Regions from separate parts of the Homo sapiens genome. Here regions 2, 3 and 4 are each linked to region 1. The links are contacts of gene promoters, found by promoter capture Hi-C in blood cells and fetal thymus (Javierre and others, 2016). All regions are on one chromosome and are shown on one strand. The core of a region is centred on a gene start or on the middle of the fragment in contact, and the rest is flanking DNA. Distances in the headings are between cores, read along the strand shown. Region 1 holds the start of PIK3CB (phosphatidylinositol-4,5-bisphosphate 3-kinase catalytic subunit beta). Region 2 has its middle 6.9 kb from the start of FAIM. Region 3 overlaps FAIM (Fas apoptotic inhibitory molecule). Region 4 overlaps PIK3CB (phosphatidylinositol-4,5-bisphosphate 3-kinase catalytic subunit beta).

Region 1 (7,331 bases), core at 1,592-4,091:
ACAACTGGGAAAACCTCAAGAAAGAACATAATTTAGACTACAGTGTTCATTTTTCACTTTTTTCCATATAGTTGGCTGACATTCACAAAGCAAGTTGAAGCAAAAGCCTTTATGGATGAGTCTTTAAGAACACCAAGAAAGATAGGCAAGAGGTGCAAAATGACAAATCAAAACCCGACTTGATTTTCAACACTTCTAAAAAACACTCCGAAGGTGGTGGACTCAGGGTGTGAATCAGGGGTGTAAATTAGATTTTTGCTTCTTAAGTCATTTTGGCTTTAGTGAATACAATTCCAGTTTAAACCTTTAAGATTTTTACTTTCGGCCGGTCGCGGTGGTTCATGCCTGTAATCCCAGCATTTTGGGAGGCCCAGGCTGGCGGATCATTTGAGCCCAGGAGATCAAGACCAGCCTGGCCAACATGGCAAAACCACCTCTCTACCAAAAATACAAAGATTGGGCCGGGCGCGGTGGCTTCCTCCTGTAATCCCAGCAGTTTGGGAGGCCGAGGCGGGCGGATACCTGAGGTTGGGAGTCCGAGACCACCCTGACCAACATGGAGAAACCCCGTCTCTACCAAAAAAAGTACAAAATTAGCCGCGTGTGGTGGCACATGCCTGTAATCCCAACTACTCGGGAGGCTATGGCAGGAGAATCGCTTGAACCCGGGAGGCGGAGGTTGCGGTGAGCTGGAGATCGCGTCATTGCACTCCAGCCTGGACAACAAAAGCGAAACTCCGTCTCAAAAAAAAAAAAAAAAAAACAAAATTGAAAGATTGGCCAGGCGTGGTGGCACGCCCCTGTAGTCTCAGCCACTAGGGAGCCTGAGGCAGGAGGATCGCTTGAACCCAGGAGGCGGAGGTTGCAGTGAGCCAAGATGGCGACATTGCACTCCAGCCTGGGCGACAGACCGAGACCCTGCCTCAAAAAACAACAATAATTTTTTTTTAAAAAAGAAGCAAGATTCGGTCTCAAAAAGATTTTTTTTTTTTCTTTTTGAGACAGGGTATCCCTCTGTTGCCCAGGCTGGAGTCCAGTGGTGCCATCTCGGCTCACTGCAACCTCCGCCTCCCGGGTTCAAGGGATTCTCCTGCCTCAGCCTCCCAAGTAGCTGGGATTACAAGCGCCCGCCACCACGCCCTGCTAATTTTTGTGTTTTTGGTAGAGACGGGGTTTCACCATGTTGCTTGGGCTGGTGTCGAACTCCTGGAATCAATTGATCCGCCCGCCTCGGCCTCCCAAAGTGCTGGGATTACAGGCGTGAGCCAACGCACCTGGTCAGAAAAAAGACTTTACTTTCTTCCATACCTGCATTCTGAAACTGGGTTAAGATCCTTATCTGACCACCCTTTCCTGTGCTACATTATTATGACTTAAACAGTTCTGCTTTTACCATAAAATCTTACAATGTAGCATAAAAATCCCCAAATGATTAATGAACTGCTGAGACCTCTGACTCGTTGGAGACAATTTTATTACGAATCATATCTCCAAACTTCCATTCAGTGCTTCAAAATAAGTACTCATTTAATTATCATGACTTCACCAGACAGTCACACTGCCCACAATGATGTTTACAAAAGCACTTGTCACTCCCTTTGGATGTAGCAATGCAGAAAAAAGAGTCTGTTTCCATACTCTTCGTGTGTTTATAACTCTGTAACAAGTGGCAGAGTTCAAGTGTCACTTGAGATGAAACAGCAAAGCACTTCAAGTTTACGTCCCACCATCTTTCATCCTAAGCGAATCCCGAATTTGCTCGGTTTCATTTCAGCAGTAATTCCCACTCAGTACCTGAGACAGGGTTCCAATTCAGCCCTGCGGGAAGAGACTGCAGGATTCTAGTAAGGGACTATAGGATTCTATTTTGGCCACTGCGAGGTTAACAGGCTCCAATATTAAGCAACTCCAGTATCGGTTACTGCAACACCAGAGCAGATCGGAAATAAATGTGCCCCCAAACGCACGCCAGCAGCCAGGAATTAGCAATAGCTAACACGAGATGCTGCAGCAGGGGTATCATTTACTTAGCACTTGTTCAGTTATGCCTAACCTCACAACAACCTTATGGTGTATGTATTATTATTTCCATTTAACACATCAGGATATTTTGGCCCAAGGCCCCAGGACTGGTCAGCAGCGGCGTTGGGATTCGAAAACATGTCCATAACCTAATAACCCTGGGTCCACGCCTCTGAAATACACTTCTGCGCAAAAAGGCACCTGAGGGTCGGGAAGTTCCGGAGGTGTCCGCATAGACGCGGGGCGCGAGTACGCCGTCTCTCCACAGAAACGCCCCTCAGGAACGGGACCCAAAGCGACAGTGACCCGGGACGCCCGGCAGCGTCTCTGCCGCCCAGGGGCCGGGGGGCGCCACTCACCTTGGAGAGCCCAGGGCGGGCCGCAACCAAGCCAGACGCCCCCACCGGCCGGTAGGCGGTTATCCTCCAAGCTGGCAGGAAGCGCGGTGCAACCACAAGAGTCGCCAGCGCCGCAGGTAGCGGCAAGCTAGAACGCACCGCCAGCACGCCCGGGGGCACCGCAGCCGGCGCCGCGACCCAGCCGCCCCTCAGCCGCGCCGCATCCGGGTCCCGGCCGCCGCACTCACCTGCCTGGCGTTCCGCCGCCGCCGCCTGCTACTATTCCAAGTGCGCAGTCAGCAGCCCAGGCCGCCGCAACCGCTCCACTCCGGCGCCCCCATCCCTGCCTCTCTCGATCACCTCCCGCCTGCCCCGCGCAGCACTACACTCGCCCCCTCCCCACTGCCATGGCCCGCTCCGCCGCAGCGCCGCACAGGCCGACAGAGCACGCGCGCGCCGCCGCCGAACCCGCGCCCGTGTGCGCGCGCGCCAGCCTCTCAGGCCTGCATCCCAGCAGCCCCCGCCCCGCCCTGCGCCGCCCTCGGGCCAATCCCGGGCCCCGCGGTGGCGGCGGCGGCGGCGGCGGCAGTTGGGCTGGCAGGGTGTGGGGAGAGGCCTCACTGCCGATTCCTCTACCGTTGCCAGCCCGGCTGCGACGCTGCTGCACGGCCTTTCCTAACTCTCTTTGCGACTCCCAGAGGACTGCGGAATAGGGAATCCCCGGCAAGTCGCCTTCAGGAGAGACCCATCACCCGCTGCGGCCTCCATAACCTCCTCCCGAGAGATTCCGCTCTTCCTAGGTTCCTTGCTGGCCTTTTCTTCCCAGCCCTTCTCCCTGTTCTGCGACATGGACTGACTCCTAAATTCTTGGACGCAGCACTTATTTTTTTCCCGATACCCGTCTCCGTCTTTCACTCCCTTTGTGAGGATAGGGCGCTAGCTCGGCTGCCTCACAGCTGGCCCTTCAGTCCCTACACTGTGAATGGTTGTTTCTAGGGAAAAGTCCAGGCTTTCAAGCCCAAGATTCTTGTTCTTTGTTCAATTTTGCAGTAACAACACCTAACATTTGTCTGCAGAGCCTTAAACTTTACCCCTTTTTGCCTACCTTGTTTCCTGTTACCTTTGACCCCAACCGCGAAAAATCACAGTCCTCTTTCTAGTGGGACACTTAAATTTTACTTACTGAAAACCAACATTTTAACTCACTCCAAAGCTAGTATATTCTAACGTAATGCTCCTATATTACCCTGGACAAATAGTTGAGTAGTCAGGGATAAAATCTAGAAGTACAACATAATAAAAAGCAAACGTGACAAATCAATTAAGTGACAAACCAATAGTTTATTTGAGAAATGATCCTAGTTTTTTTATTTTTTATTTATTTACTTATTTTGAATGAGAGTTTCGCTACTGTTGCCCAGGCTGGAGTGCAATGGCGCGATCTTGGCTCACCGCAACTCTGCGTCCCCCGGTCAAGCGATTCTCCTGCCTCAGCCTTCCTGAGGATTACAGGCATGCGCCACCACGCCTGGCTAATTTTGTATTTTTAGTAGAGACGGGGTTTCTCCACGTTGGTCAGGCTGGTCTCGAACTCCCGACCTCAGGTGATCAGCCCGCCTCGGCCTCCCAAAGGGCTGGGATTACAGACATGAGCCACCGTGCCCGGCCAATGATCCTGGTTTTAATTGACTTTCGATTTAAAGCAAGAACATTGAAAAATAAATTCCAGAAGAGGCTGTAATACCAACACTTTGGGAGGCCGAGGTGGGCAGATCACTTGAGCCCAGGAGTTCACACCTAGCCTGGGCAATATGGCGAGACTGACAAAAATGACGTGAGTGTGGTGATGTGCATCTGTTGTCCCAGCTACTTGGGAGACTGAGGTGGGAGGATAATATGAACCCAGGAAGTCGAGGGAAGTCGAGGCTGGTGTGAGTCGAGATAGCACGGTAGCACCACTGCACTCCAGCCCGGGAAATAGAGCAAGACCCTGTCTAGGAAAAAAAAAAAAAATCCAGAAGAATTAAAAAATATAAAAATTTACAAAACAGAAACTTAAGAGGAAAAAAAAATTTTTTTTTGAGACAGTCTCATTCTGTTGCCCAGGCTGGAGTGCAGTGGCACCATCTCAGCTCATGGCAACCTCCACCTCCCAGGTTCAAGCAGTTCTCTTGCCTCAACCTCCAGAGTAGCTGGGATTACAGGCACCCGCCACCACACACGCCTAATTTTTTTTTTCTTTTTTTGAGACGGAGTCTTGCTCTGTCGTCAGGCTGTAGTACAGTGGCACAATCTCGGCTCACTGCAACCTCCGCCTCCTGAATTCAAGGGATTCCCCTGCCTCAGCCTCCCAAGTAGCTGGGACTGCAGGCGCGCACCACCATGCCCGGCTAATTTTTTGTTTTTTAGTAGAGACGGGATTTCCCTGTGTTGGCCGGGATGGTCTCCATCTCTTGACTTCGTGATCTGCCCGCCTCAGCCTCCCAAAAGTGATGTGATTACTGGCCAATGAGGCAGAAATTTTAAGCAAGACAGGAAGCCCAGAACCATTATAGAAAAAAGAAAAATATTTGCCTACATAAATATTTTGAAGGTTTTGCATGACCTCACAGTGATAAGTTTTGAAAAAGAAAAAACACAATAAGTTGGGAATGATGGCTCACACCTGTAATCCCAACACTTTGGGAGGCCGAGGCGGGTGGATCACCTGAGGCCGGGAGTTTGAGACCAAGCCTGGCCAATATGGTGAAACTTTGTCTCTACTAAAAATACAAAAATTAGCTGGGCGTGGTGGTGCGGGCCTGTGATCCCAGCTACTCTGGAGGCTGGGGTGGGAGAATCGCTTGAACCCAGGAGGCAGAGGTTGCAGTGAGCTGAGATTACGCCATTGTACTCCAGCCTGGACAACAGAGCAAGACTCTGTCTCAAAAATAAATAAATAAATAAATAATAGAAATGCATGGCCGGGTGCTGTGGCTCACTCCTGTAATCCCAGCACTTTGGGAGGCCAAAGCGGGCAGATCACCTGAGGTCAGGAGTTCAAGACCAGCCTGACCAATATGGTGAAACCCCGTCTCTACTAAAAATACAAAAATTATCCGGCCATGGTGGCGGGCATTTGTAGTGCCAACTACTCGGGAGGCTGAGACAGAATTGCTTGAACCTGGGAGACGAAGTTTGCAGTGAGCTGAGATAGTGCCACTGCACTCCAGCCTGGGTGACAGAGCTAGACTCCATCTCAAAAACAGAAAACATAAATTAATTAATTAATTAATTTAATTAAAATCCATTTATAGAACCTCTTTTATGTTAGAGATATAATGTGTTGGCCAGGTGTGGTGGCTCACATCTGCAATCCTAGCACTTTGGGGGCCAAGGTGGGTGGATCCCTTGAGCAATTTTTTAATTTTTATTTTTGAAAAAAGATATAATGTGTTTGCCATATTTTTCTGCAGTTCTATTCCATCTATTGTGTTTTTTCTTTTTCTTTTCTTTCTTTTTTTTTTTTTGAGTTGGAGTCTCACTCTGTCGCCAGGCTGGAGTGCCGTGGCATGATCTCGGCTCTCTGCAACCTCTGCCTGCGGAGTTCAAGCGATTCTCCTGCCTCAGCCTCCTGAGTAGCTGGGACTAAAGGGGTGCACCACCACGCCCAGCTATGTTCTTTTTTTTTTTTTTTGTATTTTTAGTAGAGACAGGGTTTCACCATGTTGGCCAGGATGGTCTCAATCTCTTGACCTTGTGATCTGCCCACCTTGGCCTCCCAAAGTGCTGGGATTAGAGGCCATGAGCCACTGCACCCGGCCTTATGTTTCTTTTTCTTTTCTTTTTTCTCTTTTCTTTTCTTTTGAGATGGAGTCTCACTCTGTCAACCAGGCTGGAGTGCAGTGGCATGATCTCGGCTCACTGCAACCTCCACCTCCTGAGTTCAATCGATTCTCATGCCTCAGCCTCCAGAGTACCTGGGACTACAGGCCCACACCACCACACCTAGCTAATTATCGTATTTTTAGTAGAGACAGGGTTTCACCATATTAGCCAGGCTGGTCTGGAAGTCCTGACCTCATGATCACCCGCCTCAGCCTCCCAAAGTGCTGTGATTACAGGTGTGAGCCACCGCGCCCAGCTGCTTTTTTTTTTTCCTGAGGGAGTGTCTTGCTCTGTTGCCCAGGCTGGAGTGCAATGGTGCAATCTCTGCTGCTCACTGCAACCTCCACCTCCTGAGTTCAAGCGATTCTCCTGCCTCAGCCCCCCGAGTAGCTGAGATTACAGGCACCTGACACCATGCCCAGCTAATTTTTATATTTTTTTAGATTCGGGGTTTCACCATGTTGGCCAGGCTGGTCTTAAACTCCTGACCTCAGGTGATCTGCCTGCCTCTGCCTCCCAAAGTGGTGGGATTACGGGTGTGAGCCACCGCACCCAGTCAACAATAAGAAACTTGAGAGATGAGATCATCCTGGATGTAGGATGGGTCCAAACCCAATGACAAGTGTCCTTATAAGAGAAGGGGAAAGAGAGATATGACACAGAGAAACATAGAGAGGAGGGTAATGTGAAGAAGGAGGCAAAGGTTGGAATGATACATCTACAAGTGGAGAACACCAAAGATTGCTGCCTCTGTTTCTCCGCTTCCTCAACTGCCTTCAAAAATCAGCACAAGGGCCTGGGAGTTGTGGCTCATGCCTGTAATCTCAGCACTTTGGGAGGCCAAGGTGGGCAGATCACCTGAGGTCAGGAGTTCAAGACCAGCCTGGTCAACATGGGGAAACCCCATCTCTACAAGAATACAAAAATTAGCTGGGCATGATGGCAGGTGCCTATAATCCCAGCTACTCAGGAGGCTGAGGTGGGAGAATCGCTTGACCCCGGGAGGTGGAGGTTGTAGTGAGCCAAGATCACGCCACTGCACTCCAGCTTGAGCAACAGAGCAAGACTCTTTTTCAAAAAAAAAAAAAAAAAATTAGCACAAGG
Region 2 (7,331 bases), core at 3,507-6,006, 230 kb before region 1:
CACACTAGTATATGGCAAAGCCAGGATCTGAACCTAGGCATTCAGGCTCCAAAGCCTATGTCATTAACCACTTGACCATACCACTTCTTGTGACAGACATCTGCTTTACCATCAGATTGGTATATGCATTTATTACAATTTGCAATTATTTACTGTGTATTAGTTATTGCTAATGTCTGTGTATTAGTTATCTATTGGTACATAAAAATTACCCTAAAACATAGCAGCTTAAAATAAACATTTATCATCACAATGTTTCTGTGGGTCAGGAATACAGTAGGGCTTAGCTGGATGGTCTGGACAAGATCTTTCATGGGGTTTCAGTCAACCTTTTGGTCTGGGCTACTGTCATCTCAAGGTTCAGGTGGGGCTAAAGGATTCACATTCAAACTCACTCATGCGGCTATTGGCAAGCCTCAGTTCATTCCTCCTCAAGTGGGCCTTTCCCCAGGCTGCCTTAGTGTCCTCATAACATGGCAGCTTCCCACAGAGTACACAGCCCAAAGACAGCATGTGAGCAACTAAAACAGAAACCGCAGTCTTTTTTATAACCTAATCTCAGAAGTTACATATCACTACTTCTGCCATATGCTATTGGTCACATAGACCAACCGTGGTAAAATGTGAGAGGACTACACAAGGAGATGAATACCATGAAGTGGGGATCCCTGGGGCCCATCTTGAAGAATGGCTACCACAATTTATTTGTACATATTTTTGTGACTACCTCCTCCACTAGAATGTAAGTGTCATGAGTGGGAGAAATGATCAGTGTTGTTCACTGTTGTATTCCCTGCCACAGCACCTGCCAGGTAACAGATGACCAATAAGTACTGAGTAAATATAATGATGAAAGTGATATGAATTCCAGAGGATGAGCTCCCTATAATCCTCTCTTAATGTCAAACAAATTCCCAGTTGCCATTAATGGTACCATTTAAAGCTATATATTTCTTTCAGAGACATGGTCTCACTGTGTTGCCCAGCCTGGTCTCAAACTCCCGGCCTCAAGTAGTCCTCCCATCTCAGCCTCCCAAAGCACTGGGATTACAGGCATGAGCCCCTGTGTCCAACCCATTTAAATAATTTTTAAAAGCAGGAGAATATCATGCCCAAGAACATTTATTCATGTATATAAAATTATAGACTGTGGACTTGGAAGGAACACACAGATTAAAAGATCTGTTTTAACAGCTAATGAAGGCTATAATTTATACTAGGAAGTCTAACACAGTCTACACACCAAACTCAAGGGAATGTTGGCCTTTTGGAAGGAGAAAAGAGTAATAGTATTGGGATTTTCTTCTATTAAAATTTTAATACTAAGTCAATATTTAATGATGGTCAATTCTGGGAGGCAGGAATATGTGTATTATTCTCTGTATTTTTCTATAGCTTTAAAATTTCTCAAACAAGATAAAAAATGTTAAAAGTCTTGACCAGACCCAGTGCAGTGGCTCACACCTGTAATCCCAGCACTTGGGAGGCCAAGGCAGGCAGATCACTTGAGGTCAGGAGTTCAAGACTAGCCTGGCCAACATGGTGAAACCTCATTTCTACTAAAAATACAAAAATTATGGCCGGGTGCGGTGGCTCATGCCTGTAATCCCAGCACTTTGGGAGGCTGAGGCGGGAAGATCACGAGGTCAGGAGATCGAGACCATCCTGGCTAACATGGTGAAACCCCGTCTCTACTAAAAATACAAAAAATTAGCCAGGCGAGGTGGTGGGCGCCTGTAGTCCCAGCTACTTGGGAGCCTGAGGCAGGAGAATGGCGTGAACCCAGGGGGCGGAGCCTGCAGTGAGCCGAGATCGCGCCATAGCACTCCAGCTTGGGCGACAGCGAGACTCCGTCTCAAAAAAAAAAAAAAAAAAGAAAATTAGCCTGGCGTGGTGGTGCATGCCTGTAATCCCAGCTACTCGGGAGACTGAGACAGGAGAATCACTTTAACCTGGGAGGCTGAGGTTGCAATGAGCCGAGATCACACCACTGCACTCCAGCCTGGGTGATAGAATGAGACTCTGTCTCAAAAAAAAAAAGGTCTTGACCAATTGGAACACGTGTCTGTACTGCCTTCCTTTGCCTCTTGCTCTAATTAAGGCTGTACTATAAATTCCAGTCTCCAGATAACTCAGACCAGTACCTATTTTCTCCTGAAATTGTCCAAGCTTTTCTGGTCTGAAGTTCTACACAATCACCTTACTTGGCTGCTTGTTCCCTTTCCGTATTTTTGTAGAGACAGCCACAGCCTCCTTGTGCTGAGAAAGAAGTGCCTAAGCAGCGGCAGCCTGGCCAGCACTGGGAGACTGTGGTTACTGGCACTGGTTCTGTCACACAACCCTCTAAGGCGGGCGCAGAAGCCAGAATCCTGGGCCCTGGGGCTTGTTTCTAAAGTGCTAATGCCTCTTCCTTGAACACATAGCCAACAGTCATGCTAGACCAATGCTGGAAGGGAACATGGAAAATGTTAAAATTTGTAGATATCAGATTAACTTTTCCTTTTTATTTTGGTCTCCATGCTATTTAAAAAGTAAGCTCAGAAAATCAACCAAGCTAAGGGAGGTGGTGCATGCCTACAGTCCCACTACTCGGGAGGCAGAGGCAGAAGGATTGCTTGAGCCCAGGAATTCAAGACTAGCCTGAGCAATATAGCCTGTGAAGAAGAGGAAGAAAAGAAGAAGAAAGGAAAAAGAAGGAGGAGAAGGAGGGAGGAGGGGGAGGAGGAGAAGGAGGGAGGAGGGGGAGGAGGAAAAGAAAAAGAAGGAAAGGGGAAGAAGAAAGGAAGCAGAAAGAAGAAAGAAAAAGAAGAAGAGAAGGAGGAGGTTGGGAGAAAGGGAGAGAGAGAGAAAGAAAGAAAATCAGTCAATCCATTAACAATTCCCTTTTCAAAAGAAGGACCAATGAAAACATGGACTATTGTGAATGAAAGTGCTTTTAGCTGCTCTCTTTTTTTATTTTTATTTTTTGATACGGAGTTTTGCTCTTGTTGCCCAGGCTAGAGTGCAATGGTGCAATCTCGGCTCACCACAACCTCCGCCTCCCCGGGTTCAAGCGATTCTCCTGCCTCAGCCTCCTGAGTAGCTGGGATTACAGGCATGTGCCACCACGCCCGGCTAATTTTGTATTTTTAGTAGAGATGGGGTTTCTCCATGTTGGCCAGGCTGTTCTCGAACTCCTGACCTCAGGTGATCCACCCACCTCGGCCTCCCAAAGTGCTGGGATTACAGGCGTGAGCCACCGCACCCAGCCTTAGCTGCTCTCTTAAAATAAATCAGTGATGTCTATGGGGATGTTGCTGATAGGCAGTTTATGAAGTCAGAACAGCATCTAGGTACTTCCTGGGAAACAAGGTAACAATGTGAGAGTGAGATCACCTTCAAAAGCAGGATCAGCCTGAACAGGTATATTTTATATTGATGTTCAATACCTTCAACAATGTTCTGTTCAGACTTTGTTTCTCTCCATTAACAGTCCTGCCTGTCAGGTAATAAGTTACTATTCCTACCTGATATGGTTTGGCTGTGTCTCCATTCAAATCTCAACTGAAGTATATCTCCCAGAATTTCCACACGTTGTGGGAGGGACCTAGTGGGAGGTAATTGAATCATGGAGACCAGTCTTTGCTGTGCTATTCTCATGATGGTGAATAAGTCTCACAAGATCTGATGGGTTTATCAGGGGTTTCTGCTTTTGCTTCTTCCTCATTTTCTCTTGCTGTTGCCATGTAAGAAGTACTTTTTGCCTCCCCCCATGATTCTGAGGCCTCCCCTGCCATGTGGAACTGTAAGTCCAGTTAAACCTCTTTTTGTTCCCAGTTTTGGGTATGTCTTTATCAGCGGCATGAAAATGAACTAATACAGTAAACTGGTACCAGTAGAGTGGGATGTTGCTGAAAAGATACCCGAAAATGTGGAAGCGACTTTGGAACTGGGTAACAGGCAGAGGTTGGAACACTTTGGATGTGGGAAAGTTTGGAACCTCCTAGAAATTTGTTGAATGGCTTCAACAAAAATGCTGATAGTGATATGAACAATAGGGTCCACGCTGAGGTGGTCTCAGATGGAGATGAGGAACTTGTTGGGAACTGGAGCAAAGGTGACTCTTGTTATGTTTTAGCAAAGAGACTGGTGGCATTTTGCCCCTGCCCTAGAAATTTGTGGAACTTTGAACTTGAAAGAGATGATTTAGGGTATCTGGTGGGAGAAATTTCTAAGCAGCAAAGCATTCAAAATGTCACTTGGGTGCTGTTAAAAGCATTCCACTTTAAAAGGGAAACAGAGCATAAAATTTCAGAAAATTTGCAGCCTGCTGATGCAGCAGAAAAGAAAAGCCCATTTGCTGAGAAGAAATTCAAGCCAGCTGCGGAAATTTGCGTAAGTAGCAAGGAGCCTAATGTTAATCCCCAAGACCATGGGGAAAATGTCTCCAGGCCATGTCAGAGACCTTCACAACAGTCCCTCCCATCACAGGCCCAGAGGCCCAGGAGGAAAAAGTGGTTTCATGGGCTGGGCCCAAGGTCCCCATGCTGTGTGCAGCCTAGGGACTTGGTACACTGTGTCCCAGCTGCTCCAGCCATGGCTGAAAGAGGCCAACATAGAGCTTGGGCTGTGGCTTCAGAGGGTGGAAGCCTCAAGCCTTAGCAGCTTCCACATGGTGTTGCACCTGTGGGTGCACAGAAGTCGAGAAGTGAGGTTTGGGAACCCCCGCCTAGATTTCAGAAGATGTATGGAAATGCCTGGATGTCCAGGCAAAAGTTTGCTGCAGGGACGGGGCCCTCATGGAGAACCTCTGCTAGGGCAGTGCAGAAGGGAAATGTGGGGTGGGAGCCCCCACACAGGGTCCCTACTGGGGCACTGCCTAGTGGAGCTGTGAGAAAAGGGCCACTGTCCTCCAGACCCCAGAATGGTAGATCCATTGACAGCTTGCACCATGAGCCTGGAAAGTCGCACTCAATGCCAGCCATGAAAGCAGCTGGGAGGTAGGCCGTACCTGCAAAGCCACAGGGGTGGAGCTACCCAAGACCATGGGAACCTACCTTTTGCATCAGCCTGACCTGGATGTGAGACCTGGAGTCAAAGGAGATCATTTTGGAGCTTTAAAATTTGATGGCCCAGGCCGAGTGCAGTGGCTCACACCAGTAATCCCAGCACTTTCGGAGGCCGAGGTGGGCGGATCACCTGGGGTCAGGAGTTCGAGACCAGCCTGGCCAACATGGCGAAACCCTGTCTCTACTAAAAATACAAAAATTAGCTGGGCGTGGTGGTGGGTGCCTGTAGTCCCAGCTACTCAGGAGGCTGGGGCGGGAGAATCGCTTGAACCCAGGAGGTGGAAATTACAGTGAGCCGAGATCATGCCATTGCACTCCAGCCTGGGTGACAGGGCAAGACTCCATCTCAAAAAAAAAAAAAAAAAAAGTCAAAAGCAAGCTAGTTACTTCCTAGATACAATGATGGCGGTACAGGTATTGGGTAAGTACAGCCATTCCAAATGGGAGAAATTGGCCAAAACAAAGGCGTTACAGGGCCCATACAAGTCTGAAATCTAGTAGGGCAGTCAATTTGTTTTTTTTTTTTTTTGAGATGGAGTCTCGCTCTGTTGCCCAGGCTGGAGTGCAGTGATGTGATCTCAGCTCACTACAACCTCCACCTCCCAGGTTCAAGTGATTTTCCTGCCTCAGCTTCCAGAGTAGCTGGGACTATGGGCGCCCACCACGCCTGGCTGATTTTTGTATTTTTAGTAGAGACAGGGTTTCGCCATGTTGGCCAGGCTGGTCTCGAACTCCTGACCTCAGGTGATCCACCCACCTTGGCCTCCCAAACTGCTGGGATTACAGGTGTGAGTCACCATGCTTGGCTGCTTGCTTTTGATTTTACAGGCTCATAGGCGGAAGGGACTGCCTTGTCTCAGATGAGACTTTGGACTAGACTTTTGGGTTAATGCTGAAATTAATTAAGACTTTGGGGAACTGTTGGGAAGGCATAATTGACTTTGAAATGTGAGGACATAAGATTTGGAGGTGCCAGGGGTGGAATGATATGGTTTATCTGTGTCCCCGTTCACCTCTCAACTGAATCGTGTCTCCCAGAATTTTGATGTGTTGTGGGAAGGACCTAAGGGGAGGTAATTGAATCATGGAGGCTGGTCTTTCCCATGCTATTCTCATGATAGTGAATAAGTCTCACAAGATCTGATGGGTTTATCAGGGGTTTCTGCTTTTGCTTCTTCCTCATTTTCTCTTGTTGCCACCATGTAAGTGCCCTTTCACCTCTCGCCATGATTCTGAGGCCTCCCCAGCCATATGGAACTGTAAGTGCAATTAAACCTCTTTTTGTTCCCAGTTTCGAGTATGTCTTTATCAGCAGCGTGAAAATGAACTAATATACTACCTCAGATGTCCTGGGCTTGTAGGATAGGTAGGTGGAAAATGCAGCCCAAACTGGTATGTTCCTCAATTCCAGGTACCCCAGAAACTATGCCCAGAGAGGAGACAGTGGCACAGAACAAGCCAATGGAGGAATCGTGGACTGCTTTCCCTATTCTGGGCAGAGTTGGGTGTACCTCATGGGCAGGCCAGACTCTGCTGTACTCTGAAACCCCTGGGCAGAGGGGTTCCCAAGGCCTCTAAGAGTAGGCCCGGATTTTTCTTCAAGCACAATCAATACTTTTCTAGTAACAGGCTCTGTTAACATAAACTTTTCCAATCCCACAGGCCTGGCTCCCCATCTTGGCCCTGCAACTTCTGAAGGGCTTTGGGTCTTTTTGTAAAAGGAGGTAAACAGAATCATTGGGCTGTTGTGAGAACTAGAGGTAATGGCATATAAGTCACATAACAAGCATTTAATAAATTACACCTTATTGGTCTTGTAAAAGATATCCAGATTCTTCAAGTTTTTAAGAAAATATCCTTCATTCAATAATGTCTTTGAGCTGCTCCCCAACCAGGGTTTCCTGGTTCTAGCCCAGCAACTCAGGATTGTTTCTCAGAAGAAATAAAGACTGAGAAATCAGCTAGCTGTTTCTCGTCTCTGGGAATTTCCACTCTGGAGCCTTTTACCTTTACCCCCAATTCATTATTTCAACAATCATTTATTGCAAACTCTCTGTTCAAAACACTGCTGCAGCAGCTGGGGTTGGTGGTTCATGTCTATAATCCCAGCAACTTGGGAGGCTGAAGCAGGAGGATTGCTTGAGACCAGAAGTTTGAGGCTGCAGTGAGTTATGATCATGCCACTGCACTCCAGCCTGGGTGACAGAATGAAACTCTGTCTTAAAAAAAAAGACAAAAAACAAACAAACAACACTGCTGTAGAAGAAAATATAAATATGAAGT
Region 3 (7,331 bases), core at 2,006-4,505, 210 kb before region 1:
ACCACTGAATACCATGGGAGGAAAATAAAGCTGGCAGGAGGAAAGTACATATGAAACTTCACGCTGGAAGGAAATTCTCTTTCTGTTCTGAAAAGTTTCTCTTTGATAGCATTTACAGAACATAACCTGCTCAGGACTCACCTGGGAAGTCCCTAGCTATTGTTCATGCGGCTGAGGGAATCCGCAGGCAAAGAGGAGATGCTCCAAGATGAACATGCAGCAGCAACTCCCATGAGTCACTAAATCCAGCACTGAGTCATAATAGATTTGAAATTTTATCAGCTAGATATGTCCTTTTATTAACATACCACTTTGAATAGGTTACATACTCAAGATTCAGAAATCAAAATGCTATTAAAAGACACATTAAAAAGTCTTGCTTCCATCCCTGTTCCCATCTGCCATGTTCCCCCATCAAGATAACCATTTTTAGTGTCACTCTAGTGTTTCTTTATTCAGATTCAAGCGAGTACACATATTCTCTCTTACCACATAAAAGCATCTTGCTTTATTCACTTATTATATTCCGAAGATCCTTTTATATCAGAACCTAAAGAACTTTTTCATATTTTTTATAGCTGCAGAGTAAATTTCAATAGTAAATGGTGTATTTAGCTCATTCCCAACTGATGAACACTTGAGCTGTTTCTAATCTTTTGCTGTTAGAAGCAATGCTGCATGAATAGCTTTGTTTGCATGCCTCTTGGAACAGGACACATATTATATTAGTACACATTTCTGGAAGTAGGAAAGTAGGACTTCTATTCTTCTGGGTCAAAGACTAATTGTATTTGTCATCTTAATAGATTTTGCCCATTTGCCTTCCATGGTACTTTTACCATTTTGTACCCCCGTTAGCTATTTTCCCCAGGTTCTCCAGCAGAACATGTAGCCAAACTTTTGGATTTTTTGGCATTCTGCTAGGTGAAGCAATGGTATTTCAGGGTTGTTTTTGTCTTTTTCATAAGTGAGGTTGAGCATCTTAGTTTTAAGTTTCTTTTGTATTTCCTTTCTCATGATGCCTGTTCATGCCCTTTGCCCCATTTTCTTTTGGTTGTTGGTCTTTTTCTCCTTGATTTCTCATAGTCTTCACATTAGTAAGTTTAGTCCTTTGTTCATGCTGTGAGTTTGACATATTTTTTTCAGAGTTTGTCATTTATTACATGACTTTGCTAATGTGTGTGCATTTTTCTTCAATTGTGCTGTGGCTTTTTTACTTTTTTTTTTTTTTCCCAAGACAGGATCTCACTCTGTCGCCCAGGCTGGAGTGCAGTGGTGCAATTTTGGCTCACTGCAACCTCTGCCTCCTGGGTTCAAGCAATTCTCCTGCCTCAGCCTCCTGAGTAGCTGGGATTACAGGCGCCCGCCACTACGTCCAGCTAATTTTTTGTATTTTTAGTAGAGACGGGGTTTCACCATGTTGGCCAGACTGGTCTTGAACTCCTGACCTTGTGATTTGCCTGCCTCAGCTTCCCAAAGTGCTGGGATTACAGGCATGAGCCACCGTGCCTGGCCTTTTTTTGTACTTTTATGTAGTCAAATTTAATACATTTTCTTTTAGGGCTTCTGGATTAGTAGTGTTCTTCAGAGGCATGCTAATACGCTATTGTAGAAACTCTGAGTACACGTACATGTTCAGTAAGCATAGCAAGTAAAATACCAGTTTCTACCATCATCGTGGTTTATCATAGCACTGTGTGCACTGATCATGTCTTGGGACAAGTTGAGTTTACCTGCACCTGTGACTATAGCAGCTTTCTATGAAGGCTGCCACTGAGGTGACCCCTGCCCATATCTCCTGGACCCCTCTGGCTTTCTCTTTTTCCATCTAGCGCACCTCAAAGGCTTTTCTCCCATCTCTAAGTGAGGCTCCCATCTCAAGGTATGGGGAGAGAAAGAACCCCCTTTAGACTGTGCTCCTGGAGCAGATGGCCAGGCAGTAAGACCCTGGACTGGTGCCTCAAACCTGACCCCCAGACTCCTTGTGCACATACAGGCCATACTTCCTTCTCTTCTTCACTGTAATACCCAAAGCTCAACTTCTGGCTTCTTGATTAGTGTAGTCTTCTCTCCTGCTACTCCTGAGGACACTAACATTTGCAAGGGGCTCTGGGGACTCCTCCACCCTGAGATGAGCTATGGCAAGTTAACTGATCCATTTAAGTGTGTCGGGGCAGCATTTTGTTCCATATTGTTCCTTAGTGTGCAGTCCACCAGCTATACCTATTTTTTACTTGTAATCCAATAATTTTTCTCTAAACTGAAACCATTATGAAAAGGAATAGACATTATTGTACTACCTAGTAAGAAGCTGGACTAGATTTCTAAAGCGGACATGCTGTCTATCCTATATAAATCCCGTGGCAGCTGCTTTCAGTGGTCTTTTGTGCCATCACCCAGTTGGGTGAGTGTGGGAGGCAGGGGAGTCATCTGGTCAATATTGAAGGGCATTTTGTATGGAAGGGTCCCTCCTCACATTCATCTGTATGCATCCTTCTTTTTTATTTATTTATTTATTTATTTATTTATTTATTTTTGAGATGGAGTCTTTCTCTGTTGCCCAGGCTAGAGTGCAGTGGTGCGGTCTCGGCTCACTGCAAGCTCCACCTCCCAGGTTCACGCCATTCTCCTGCCTCAGCCTCCCAAGTAGCTGGGACTACAGGCACCCACCACCATGCCCGGCTAATTATTGTATTTTTAGTAGAGATGGGGTTTCACCGTATTAGCCAGGATGGTCTCGATCTCCTGACCTTGTGATCCGCCTGCCTCAGTCTCCCAAAGTGCTGGGATTACAGGCGTGAGCCACCGCGCCCGGCCTGTATGCATCCTTCTTTAAAGATTGTCCTTTTGGATTCATTTTGTTTCATAAGGCTTCATCAATTTGTATTAAGACCATAACTTTCTCTTAAAAGGTTGTTTTGTTTCATTATAGTTTTATGAACAAAGAACAAACACAGCTTCTTCAAATTTTAGGAGAGTCTGCAAGCCATGAAAGCCATGAAAAAGTGTTGGGTTTTGGAATATTAATGGAGTTTTAGAGATCTGGTATATCAATCCTTTCCTAAAGTAATAAATAGGAAAAGTTAACTTTATCTTTAAATCACAGAATTATAACTTAAAGTTTTTATGTTACCTTTACAGAAAAAGATGCTATGGACGTATGGTGCAATGGTAAAAAATTGGAGACAGCGGTAAGTTGACTATTTGATGACTCTAAGTGCCATGTGTCTCAGTTACCATTGAATTGTTGCTGCATTTCCTAATTATAGAGATCTTATAATGAATCAAGGCCCTCTTGATAAAAACAAAAAAGGGATTAAGTACTCCTGACTTCAGATTCTGAAAACCTTTGCCAGATGGTGCCTGGTACCGTGAGTTTGGAAACAACTCATGTTCTTAGCTGGCACTAGCTTCATACTCTCCCTTTCCTGTCCTGGACCAGGCTCCAGCATAGCAAGTAAAATACCTAAAAAGAGCCCCTAGTTAAAAAATTATATCCCCAGAGGTTGGTGTCCTCTTGTGTTGATCCATTTGAAGTGGTGCGTTATCACTGCTTCTCAAACTTGCATGCACAGAAATTGCCTGGAATCTTGTTAAAATGCTAATTCTAACATTTCCCTAGGTGCTGCTAATGCTACTGGTCCACAGATCACACTTTAGGAATGCTTTACACCATACACTCAAAGCAGATGGTTCTTTTCTGAAAGCGAGATTTTTGTAAAATGAGTGATACAATATCAGATGACACGAAGGTAGACGAACAGGAAAGGGCACTCTCACGAACCCCGGAGGACAAGTGGAATTTTAGACCAGCAGTGCCAATGCGAGGAGAAAGAGGCTCCCCCAGTCACTGTGGCCAGGCACACTGAAATCCCCATCTAGATAGACTCCAGTGTGTTTGACTTTTGCTATCAGGTGCTTGGATTACTATGGCTGTGGATGGGATGAATGTAGGAGTGAATTTCAAGCAGGAGTGAAACAGTAGTAGTGTGCACAGGGGAGAGAGTGGGAAACAGAAAGTGTGGGACTAGGAGCCGAAATCACTGGGTGGTAATCCCCATGTCTTATGGGGTCTGTGGGCCAAGCAGGGAGTGCTATCCCTGGGACCCACCTTTCATGCTGGCTCCAGATGTGAACATCAGGGCTAGAGATAATCGGAAGCTCTCTTCTCTGGTCACATTTTGCATGTTGTAGTTGCTTTTATCTCATTTGTATAGTATAGGTTTAAGACAGTGAGAAAAGGTGATTTTGGTAGTTGGAGGAAAGGAGGTCTGGGATTAATTCATTCAGAAGACCACCTAGAACCTACTTGGTCTGATAGCTGTTTCTGAGGAGGTGACAAAACCAGAAATCAAAAATTACAAAGATGAAGCCACACGTGGTAGCACAGGTCTGTAGTGGCTTCCTACTTGGGAGGCTGACGTGAGAGGGACCCTTGAGCCTAGGAGTTTTAGGCCAGCCTGAGCAACATAGTGAGACCCATCTCTAAAAAAATTAATCAATCAATTGAAATTTAAAAGTTACGAAGATGAATGCTTTTCTGTTTCTGAGTCCTGAAGAATTTAATTTGGGCTCACTCTAAATTGAGTGCTTGAGCTGTTCTCTGGGTTAAATCTACTGATAGAGACTTCTTTTATGCAGAGAGGCTTGGAGAGTGCTTCAGTATTTTATGGCCCCCTTTGGAAAAACTCCAGTTACCACTAACATGGATCAGATACCTACTGTGTGCCCAATGCCATACCTGGTGGTTCTTCCTGTTCTTTTTTTCCTACCCTGGAATTCTCTAGATAGGGAATCAGCACTTTTGAATTGCATTTCCTCCCATATTCAAGAAATTCTCCAGTGCACATGTAAAGAGAATGCTGTTTTATGGTATTAAGAATATGGTTGTACTGGGCGAGGTGACTCATGCATGTAATCCCAGCACTTTGGGAGGCTGAGGCGGGCAGATTGCTTGAACCTAGGAGTTAGAGACTAGTCTGGGTGACATGGCGAAACCCCTCTCTACTAAAAATACAAAAATTAATAGAGCATGGTGGCACATGCCTATAGTCCCAGCTACTCAGGAGGCTGAGGTGGAAGAATTACCTGAGCCCAGGGAGATTGAGGCTGCAGTGAGCCAAGGTTGCACCACGGCACTCCAGCCTCGGTAACAGAATGTGAGACCCTGTCTCAAAAAAAAAAAAAAAAATGCAGTTGTAACTTTGGGAGGCCAAGATGGGAGGATCATTTGAGGCCAGGAGCTCATGACCATCCTGGGCAACATGATGAGGCCCTATCTCTATAAATTTTTTTTTTTAAGTTAGCTGTGTATGGTGGTGTGTACCTGGTCCCCGCTGCTCAGGAGGCTGAGGCAGGAGGACTGCTTGAGCCCAGGAGTTCAAGGCTGCAATGAACTACAGTTGTACCCCTGTACTCCAGCCTGGGTGGCAAGAGCAAGACCCTGTCACACACATACACAAGGAATGTTGTTGTGGTTGTAAAAAGGTGAAAATAATATTCATCCACATGTCTTTGTTTTGTAGTAATTAACAGGAAACTACATGTGTTTGGAAATAGCTCTTTATAACACAGTTGCCTTCTCATTGTAACTACAACCTAGTTTGCAGGGCAGTTTGGGCAGCCCCATATCTAGGCAGCCTTCCCCAGTACTGTACGTACCCACAACAAACTCATCTTGTTGCCTGTGAGTTACAGCTTATTTTCTCCTTTTTATCTCAAAGCATCGTGCCAAAATTATATATTTGTCCAATTGCCAAGAAGCTACGTATATAGATTGTATTACCTAACCCTTGCCCTTTCTTCCGAAGTCTTTTTTCAAGGCTCAATATTAAAAATGGGGACAAGAACACACTGCACCCAAGGACATGCTTGTGGTATTCAGCATACCTCCCATAAGGAGCCACGGGCCACATCCTTCCCAGAGCTAGGAAAAGGCTTCTCTCCCTGAGGCATCCTGTGCCTTCTTTGGCTTGGTTTGTTAACTGGGGGGCCTTGTTCTATCTACTTTGGCTGCCAGGAAGCTAATAGCCAGGGGGTTTAAGTCTGATTTTTGGTTTCTTTGCTTTCTGGCATAAATCTTTTTTTTATCCTCTAAGCCTCTTCTTTCTTCCTTCCTTCTCTGCGCTACCTGGCGCTAATCTTTTTACTCTAGATCACTGCTACTCAATCAAAGCATAATATGAGGCACAGATAGGACCTTCATGTGTAATTTTAATTTATCTAGTATCCATATTTGAAAAAATTTTAGGTGAAGTTAAATATTATATTTGATTTAAATCAATATACCAAAAATAGTATTTAACATGTAATCAGTATAAAAAGTTATTTTATACATTTTTTTGTTTCATACTAGGTCTTCTAAATCCAGTGTCTATTTTATATTTAAACAGCATATCTATTTTCAGACTAGTCAATTTGAAGTGCCCAATAGCCACATGTGGCCAGTGGCTACTGTATTGAACAGAACAGGTATAGATTTAGTGGTGTTTGGTTTTGTTATATGTATATTTTACTGTAAGCCACCTTATACCCAGAGGAATCAGATTTTCAGAGTGGCTAAGAACACTCCATCCCTGGCTGGATGCAGTGGCTCACACCTGTAATCCCAGCACTGTGGGAGGCTAAGGTGGGTAGATCACTTGAGGTATATTATAAATAACTAATAAATGTCATATTTATCATTTTTATTTTTGAAAACATAGACACATAGTCATGAGGTTTATATTCCTCCCCCAAGAATTTAAGATTCTTAAGGATTGTAGGGGTTATGAAAAGGAAACTTTCAATTCATAACAGAAATGTAAAAGCATCTAAGTACAAGCTTTAGACTTTGTTTTTCAAAGCTTATTGTTTAACTAATACATTATTTTATTGCACTACTAGTACTTTTAGATGGTGTGAATGCTCTAGACAGAGATAAAAGTTTCTGCACCACTAATTCCTTCTTCTTTTGTTGCTCCAGGGTGAGTTTGTAGATGATGGGACTGAAACTCACTTCAGTATCGGGAACCATGACTGTTACATAAAGGCTGTCAGTAGTGGGAAGCGGAAAGAAGGGATTATTCATACTCTCATTGTGGATAATAGAGAAATCCCAGAGATTGCAAGTTAATGAATTTTCATCTTAAGAAGTAAAGATCAGGACTTTTTAATTACTGTGGTAATTAAATGTGTTCAGTATGTACTTATCAGTACATTTAGTCTGCAATGTTTTAATTTTTTAAAAAGTTACATGAAACTAACATTCCAAGGGTCAGGAAAAAAACCAATTATGTATAGTCATAAAAATTACAATTTATGATGCAAATAATGTAAAATGTTTTAAAGAC
Region 4 (7,331 bases), core at 3,513-6,012, 140 kb before region 1:
GTATGTGAAATTTGAAACTTCTTCCATGTCTGTACAGTTGAAAGTTTTCATGCTCCATCTCTAATTGTGTTGATATCCACACTTCCTGGAACAGTGTCCTGAATACCCCATGGACATAAGTCTAATACTTTAAGTGTTTCAACACCTTGTCCTTTTGTAAGTTTATAGTAATAACAAGAACAGCTATGTACAGGGTAAAGTCTTCCTCTCACAATTCATCAATCAAAAAAAAAAAAAAACAGGAGTTAGAATAATTTGTTCATACATATATCATCCTTTTATTGTCTTTAACATCAAGCTGAGGCTCCCAGAAAATATGCAGTGTGGAAAATGGTTATATGATGACAATAAGCAAGTTATGACTAAGTATGGCCTAACAGGCTTTGGCAGAAAATTTGAATTTTACTCATAGTGCAATGAAAAATTATTGAAGGGATTTTAAAAGGGAAATGATGTAATACAATCTACTTCTTTTTTTGAGACAGGGTCTTGCTCTGTTGCCCAGGCTAGGGTGTAGTGGTACAATCAAATCATAGCTCACTGCAACCTCAAATTCCTGGGCTCAAGCAATCCTCCCACCTCGGCCTCTCAAGTAGCTGGGACTACAGTTGCAAGCCACCTTCTAATTTTTTCTAGAGATGGGTCTCACTATGTTGTGCAGGTTAGTCTCAAACTTCTGGGCTTAAGTGATCCTCCCACCTTAGCCTTTCAAAGTGCTGGGTTTTCAGGTGTGAGCCACTGCATCTGGCCACAGTCTACATTTTTAAAATGTCACTTTATCTTCTGTGTATAGAATGTTGGGGGAGATGTAGGAAGGGAAACACGGGGTACAATTTAGATAGTTAATGAAGAAGTCCAGTGAAAAAGAATAGTAGCTTGGACTAGGATGGTAGCCATGAACACAAGGGAAATAGGCAGAGATGTGAGATATATTTCAGGGTTCTATAAAATTCAGAGGATTAATAATATTGATTCCATGTTGTTGTTAAGAATAAATGACCCATAATAAGTGATGAATAAACATTAGCTATTATTACAATCATTAATGGGCTTTTCAAAAGTAAGGGATCAGAAAAAGTTTTTAACATCATGAAAAATCCTAAATATTAAAAACACCTAATGGAAGCCTATGAGAGTTCTTCTGGCAATGCAAATGAATTAGAAAAGAGTAGTTTAACTGGAAATTAGGAATCTGATATAAAAATAGGGTGGGGCAGCCAGGTACGGTGGCTCACACATGTAATCCCAGCACTTTGGGAGGCCGAGGCGGGCGGATCACGAGGTCAGGAGTTCAAGACCAGCTTGGCCAACACAGTGAAACCCTGTCTCTACTAAAAATACAAAATATTAGCTGGGCATGGTGGCGCATGCCTGTAGTCCCAGCTACTCGGGAGGCTGAGGCAGGAGAATCGCTTGAACCCGGGAGGCGGAGGTCGCAGTGAGCCAAGATAGTGCCATTGCACTCCAGCCTGGGCAACAGAGCGAGACTCTGTCACAAAAAAAAAAAAAAAAAAAAAGGGTGGGGCTGGGTGTGGTGGTTCACATCTGCATTTCTTAGCACTTTGGGATTAATATAGAATATATTAGGAATGCCGAGTAATTATTTTTCAGGTAGCATTCAGTTAATATTTTTGTGCTAAGTTCATTGAAACTTCATTTTTTGACTTAAATTTTGACAAAAGAATGTATTCATCAGGTTGTCTGTTACTGAGACTTCTATGAAATAATGTGGTGGGAGAAATGGCATTTGATAAAACTGATCAAACACCAAGTACCAAATTGAACATGAAGATTAAAACAAGCTGATATTCATGCTTTAAACGTTGTCTGTCAAAAAAAGAAAAAATGAATAAATAAAACAAGCTGATACCTGCTTAGAAAGCACTTTCATGTGCCCCACACTTCCCCGGCAGTATGCTTCAAGGATGACACCAAATTGTACTGAGACAGCAGGAATGTGCACTTCTGACCTGCAGAAAGTTAATGATATCTGAACAGTTTGTTTATCAAACACTTCAGATCACCGAATAAATACTGACTTCTTTATTCTACAAAAAATAAACTTATGATGGCAAGGTCATTGTGTGCATTATTATTTCCTTCCTCCCTTCCTTCCTTTTTTGAGAGTCTCACTCTGTTGCCCAGGCTGGTGTGCACTGGTGTGATCTCGGCTCACTGCAATCTCCACCCACCGGGTTCAAGCTTGCCTAAAATAAAAAAGTGTAGCTAGATGTCGCTAGGTGACTAGGTTCTAGCCAACAGGATGCAAGATGAAGTGATGTGCACAAAAAATGAGTCCTGGACTTAGAAGGAAATGCTGGTCCCTCCCCTTCCCTCCCCTCCCCATTTCTGGCTCGAATGTGGATGGGGTGGCCAGCCCCTTCATACTTGCGATTCTCCTGCCTCAGCCTCCCGAGTAGCTGGGATTATAGGCATGCGCCACCATGCCTGGCTAATTTTGCATTTTTAGTAGAGACAGGGTTTTGCCATGTGGCCAGGCTGGTCTAAACTCCTGGCCTCAAGTGATCCATCCACCTTGGCCTCCCAAAGTGCTGGGAACAGGCATGAGCCACCACGCCTGGCTACTTTGTGCATAATTATTAGTGACATGGGTCAACTTTCCAATTTGTTAAACTTCAAAGTTCAAAAGCTATGATATTCTATAATTAGTTAATACTTCAAAGTTCAAAAGCTATGATATTCTATAATTAGTTAATACTTCAAAGTTCAAAAGCTATGATATTCTATAGTTAGTTAATACTTCAAAGTTCAAAAGCTATGATATTCTATAATTAGTTAATTCTTTATTCCAAGAAGTCTAAAATGTGTACATCTTACCTGATTTGCTTTTGTACGGGTAAGGCAATCTTACCAATTTAAAGACAATAGGCTGAAACAGGTATCTATGAAATCTGACTGGTATTAAACAATTGACTAATGCCCTGATTAGCATCTATTCCAATTTTTTTCTTACTTAAAAAGTGATGTACATATTTGAAAAAGGAAGGAATACTTATTTTGTTATTCCCTGAGAGGTTTAAAAACTAAGACTGAATGAATGAGAAAAGACAAGTTAAAAATAAGAAAAGGTTCTAGAACAACACAAGAAAGTAAAAAAAAGAGTGGAAAAAAATATATGAATAAGAAAACCATATTCAGAAATAAAACTAAAATTAAGAGCACAACATTATAGAGCTTATTGCCTTTGAGAAGCTCAGCAAAGAAAAGAAAAAAGAAGAAAAGAAGAAAAAGAAAAGAAAAGGAAGGAAGGAGAAAGAGAGAAAGAAAGAAAAAAGGTAGTTTTTTTTTCTGACAAGCATTAGTTTCAGCACTATGAAGTCCAGATTGGGAGGGAAAAAAAATGTCTGAGTACAGAGTCAGAAATGAGAAATCTATTAATACAATTTCCTTAGAAAACAAAGGAATAACTTTAGTTCTCATTCCTGATTTTACTCTTATATGAACTTGGTGAAGTAAGGTTCGTGTATTTCTGGAAATTACCTACTTAATAAAGAAATTGAATAAAATTGCTGTCATTATAGTATACCTTTACCTTCACTCAATAACACTAGTAATGACAGTACCACCCACAACTTTCTAGATGAAATAAATAGGTCTGCATTGAGCCCAAATATATTAAGACAATAAGTACACTTTACTGGAAAATAGCAATACATTATTAATTTCAGTTAAAAATCAAGCAGGTAGAAAACACACACAAAAAAAAAAAAAAGAAAGGAAGGAAGAAATGAAGAAATCAAGCAGGCATGGAGGGACACATAAGGGTCTTGGATAACTGAATTACTTTGTCAAATCTCAAATCATAAAAATCAAGAGTGCTGGTATCAAGAAACAGGAGAAGGCACCAAAACCATATAAATGTTATAAACGGTTCAGAAAAAAACTAAAGCAGCTATTTTTCTATTAAATATATTATGCTTGTTTATAGTTACTAAAGCACCTGGTGGGCTCAAAGTAAAATATAAAAGACTTACCTAAGATGCCAAAATAGAAACTGCCCTATCCTCCGATTACCAAGTGCTCTTTCTAATAGGAATCTAGAGAGGGCACAATCAAGAAAAGGCTCATATTTTAACACTTGCACCAGTTGTAAAAGATATTGAGAAAGTTCTTCATCACTGAAAGAAACAAAAGACACAGTGAGTAACCAAACAACCTGTGCCAGAAAAAGATCCCTTGGTATCAAACTATCAAATGTGAACTTGTTGAAACACAATGGTTCTTTTGGGCCAGGCTTGTTACATGCTTTCCTTCACTGTACCACTGTTACAATATCACAAAAAAAGCTGAAGATTTCAGATGGGGAAAAGGGAGTCAAGAGGGTCAAAGAACAGATACTAGAGATATTTTAATCAAATGAATTAGATTGTGATATGGTCTGGCTTTTGTCCCTACTCAAATCTCACCTCAAATTATAATCCCTATAATTCCCACATGTCAAAGGAGCATCCTGGTGGGAGGTGACTGAATCAATGTGGCCCTCCATGCTAGTCTCATGACAGTGAGTGAGTTCTCATGAGATCTGATGGCTTCATAAGAGGTGGTTTCCCCTGCTCTTTCCCTTTTCCTGCCACCTTGTGAAGATGGTACTTGCTTCTCCTTCGCCTTCTACCATAATTTTAAGTTTTGTGAGGCCTCCCTAGCCATGTGGAACTGTGAGTCAATTAAACATCTTTCCTTTATAAATTACCCAGTCTCAGGTAATTCTTTATAATGGTGTGAAAATGGACTACTACAGATTGTTAAAATTCATGACTGTATTTTCAGTCAGCTAAGAGTTACCAAAAATATTAGGTACTTTAATACTGATTTCTGATCATGCTAAAAAATTTGTGCTTAGTAAAACAATCATTTTTAAAATAAAAATTCCATCAGTACTTTCACAATTTATTTTCCTTTGCTGTTATTAGGGTTAAGTTGTCCCAGATAACCAATGTACAATTAAAATCTTAACTTCAAATAGTTTGAAGGATGAGAAAGTGAATACATTTATAAGTGGGAATTGATCATTGAAATAATATAACAGATAACATTGTAATTAACTGAGCTCAATTAATTAAGGTTAGTGGTTCTCTATTTTGTGTCAATCTCCAAACCATTCTACCTGTAAACACACTCCTATCAGAGGCAACTCCAGCAGTATAAGGTATGAAGCCCAAGTGCCCCAAGTGCTCCACTTACTCTCCACAGTATTGGGTAATAAATGGTTAAGGAATTAGTAGTCTAAGGCAGATATCTGGGACTGAAACCCAGGGCACTATATACCAAAACCAAAAACTCATAACCAGAAATTTCACAATAGAAAAACCACCAGAATTAGCTACACGGAATACACGGATCACTGCCATCTCCTCAGAGGGATCAATGCGTTTAAGAAAAACACTTGGCTCAGCCCAAGGAGAACCAGGTGGCCCCTCCACAACAGGTCTCCAATGCAAACTTAAGCAGATGGTGAAGCAACTGGGAATTCATTTTTTAAAACTATCTATAACACAATTTTGATTAGGTTTATTGTAAAATTCATGCCCACTATATAACCTATAAATAGTGTAAAAAATAGAAAGTATAGGAATAGGAAGCTGTTTCCTCTTCTCTCACATTTCTAATTTCACTCCCCAGAAGTAAGCACTATTGGTGAGTCTGTGTAATTACTTTTGGCTATTACACAGCTTAAAACATACACGATTTTAAAAAGAAAAAAGGATCATAGTATCCACACTATTTTGTGGGCTTTTATGTTTCAAAAACCATAAAGTACATAAGCCTCACTTTTGAACCTAGAAAGAAAATGGATAAACTTCATTGTCTGAGACAGTCATTTCTTCAGTGAATCTCATAGATTCTCACAAATGCACCATCCAAGGGAGACTGTACAAACATGTTCACTGAAGCATTATTTATAATAGGGAAATGTGGAGAAACTTAAATATTCCTTAATAGGGAATGAATTAAATAAGATATATCCCTATGACAGAATATTACACAGTAGTGAAAGGAATAAATGACATTTAAACATAATGGGAGAGACTAACCTCAAAAACCTGATGTTGAATTTTTATTTATTTATGTATTTGTATTTTATTTTTTGAGACAGGGTCTCACTCTGTCACCCAGGCTGGAGTGTAGTGGCACCATCTCAGCTCCTGCAACCTCCGCCTCCAGGGCTCAAGTGATCCTCCTACCTCAGCCGCCCAAGTAGCTGGGACCACAGGTGCGCACCTCCACGCCCAGCTAATGTCTCTGTATTTTTGGTAGAGACGGGGCTTAACCATGTTGCCAAGGCTGGTCTCAAACTCCTGGGCTCATCGATCTGCCTGCGTTTGTCTCCCAAAGTGATGGGATTATAGGTGTGAGCCACCACAGCTGGCTGAATTATTATTATTTTTTTTTGGAGACGGAGTCTCGCTCTGTCAACCAGGCTGGAGTGCAGTGGTACGATCTCTGCCCACTGCAACCTCTGCCTCCTGGGTTCAAGTGATTCTTCTGCCTCAGCCTCCTGAGTAGCTGAGATTACAGGCACCGGCCACCACGCCTGGCTAATTTTTTGTATTTTTAGTAGAGATGGGGTTTCACCATGTTGGCCAGGCTGGTCTCAAACTCCTGACCTCAAGTGATCTGCCTGCCTCAGCCTCCCAAAGTGCAGGGATTACAGGCATAAGCCACCACACCCAGCCATCTGGCCAAATTTTTAAAAAGCATGATATAAACTAATGCATATGGCAAGACACATTTGTGTAATAATAATTCCATGTCTATATTTTCATAGATATATATGAAACAGAAAAATGTGATATAGAAGCATACACACCAAATTCATGATAATGTTTGCCTCTGAGAAGGAAGAGAAGTAATCAAGACTGGATAAGGAAACTATGAGGACTTCAACTTTAACTGTAATGTATTTGCTTAAAATATATATATATATATATATATATATATATTATATATATATATATATATATATATATTTTAAACCCATGACAAAAATTAACATTTCTTAATTCTGGAGGGTGGATAGACTGTGTGAAGAAAAGAGGTAACACAGCAGGCTTGGCTGCTATCCTCTAACAAGCCTGCTTATAGGATTGGCCCATGGCTAGCATCTGGGAATTAAGATTTCAGGATTCCCACCACCCTCCCTAATTGATAAGAGTGGCTCACTGCACCTAAACTATTTGTGCAAATAATGGTTTATGTTGTATATCCACTTTACTGCTGGGAGTATAGAAATCTGGTACATGCTAGGCAGAGGGTGCTTATGTGATAGCTGCCCGTAAAAACCGTGGCCACGAAGTCTCTAACAAGCTTCC

The links. The method cuts DNA at HindIII sites, captures the fragments that hold promoters and counts their contacts. A CHiCAGO score of 5 or more calls a contact.
Region 2: a fragment that was not itself captured here is called in contact with the fragment with the promoter of PIK3CB in region 1 in 2 of 17 cell types (erythroblasts and M2 macrophages); the score reaches 5.8 in erythroblasts.
Region 3: a contact is called between a fragment that was not itself captured here and the fragment with the promoter of PIK3CB in region 1, in 1 of 17 cell types (total CD8 T cells). The highest score is 5.0, in total CD8 T cells.
Region 4: a contact is called between a fragment that was not itself captured here and the fragment with the promoter of PIK3CB in region 1, in 2 of 17 cell types (neutrophils and erythroblasts). The highest score is 10.1, in neutrophils.

Annotation. Positions count from the first base shown.
Region 1 is chr3:138,832,087-138,839,417 of GRCh38, forward strand. PIK3CB (phosphatidylinositol-4,5-bisphosphate 3-kinase catalytic subunit beta) reads right to left here and starts at 2,842. Exons shown (of 24, transcript NM_006219.3): 1 at 2,609-2,842. RefSeq lists a silencer at 2,339-3,078. The HindIII fragment of the contact is 25,969 bases long and covers 1-7,331 here.
Region 2 is chr3:138,598,211-138,605,541 of GRCh38, forward strand. No RefSeq gene overlaps it. Among named protein-coding and RNA genes, the nearest start is that of FAIM, 6.9 kb to the right of the region's middle. The HindIII fragment of the contact is 5,178 bases long and covers 2,168-7,331 here.
Region 3 is chr3:138,625,966-138,633,296 of GRCh38, forward strand. FAIM (Fas apoptotic inhibitory molecule) reads left to right here. Exons shown (of 6, transcript NM_001033031.2): 5 at 3,142-3,191; 6 at 6,965-7,331. The coding sequence ends at 7,114. Among named protein-coding and RNA genes, the nearest start is that of FAIM, 21 kb to the left of the region's middle. The HindIII fragment of the contact is 7,132 bases long and covers 1-6,821 here.
Region 4 is chr3:138,687,005-138,694,335 of GRCh38, forward strand. PIK3CB (phosphatidylinositol-4,5-bisphosphate 3-kinase catalytic subunit beta) reads right to left here. Exons shown (of 24, transcript NM_006219.3): 15 at 3,996-4,139; 16 at 1,871-1,970. Among named protein-coding and RNA genes, the nearest start is that of FAIM, 82 kb to the left of the region's middle. The HindIII fragment of the contact is 5,124 bases long and covers 2,201-7,324 here.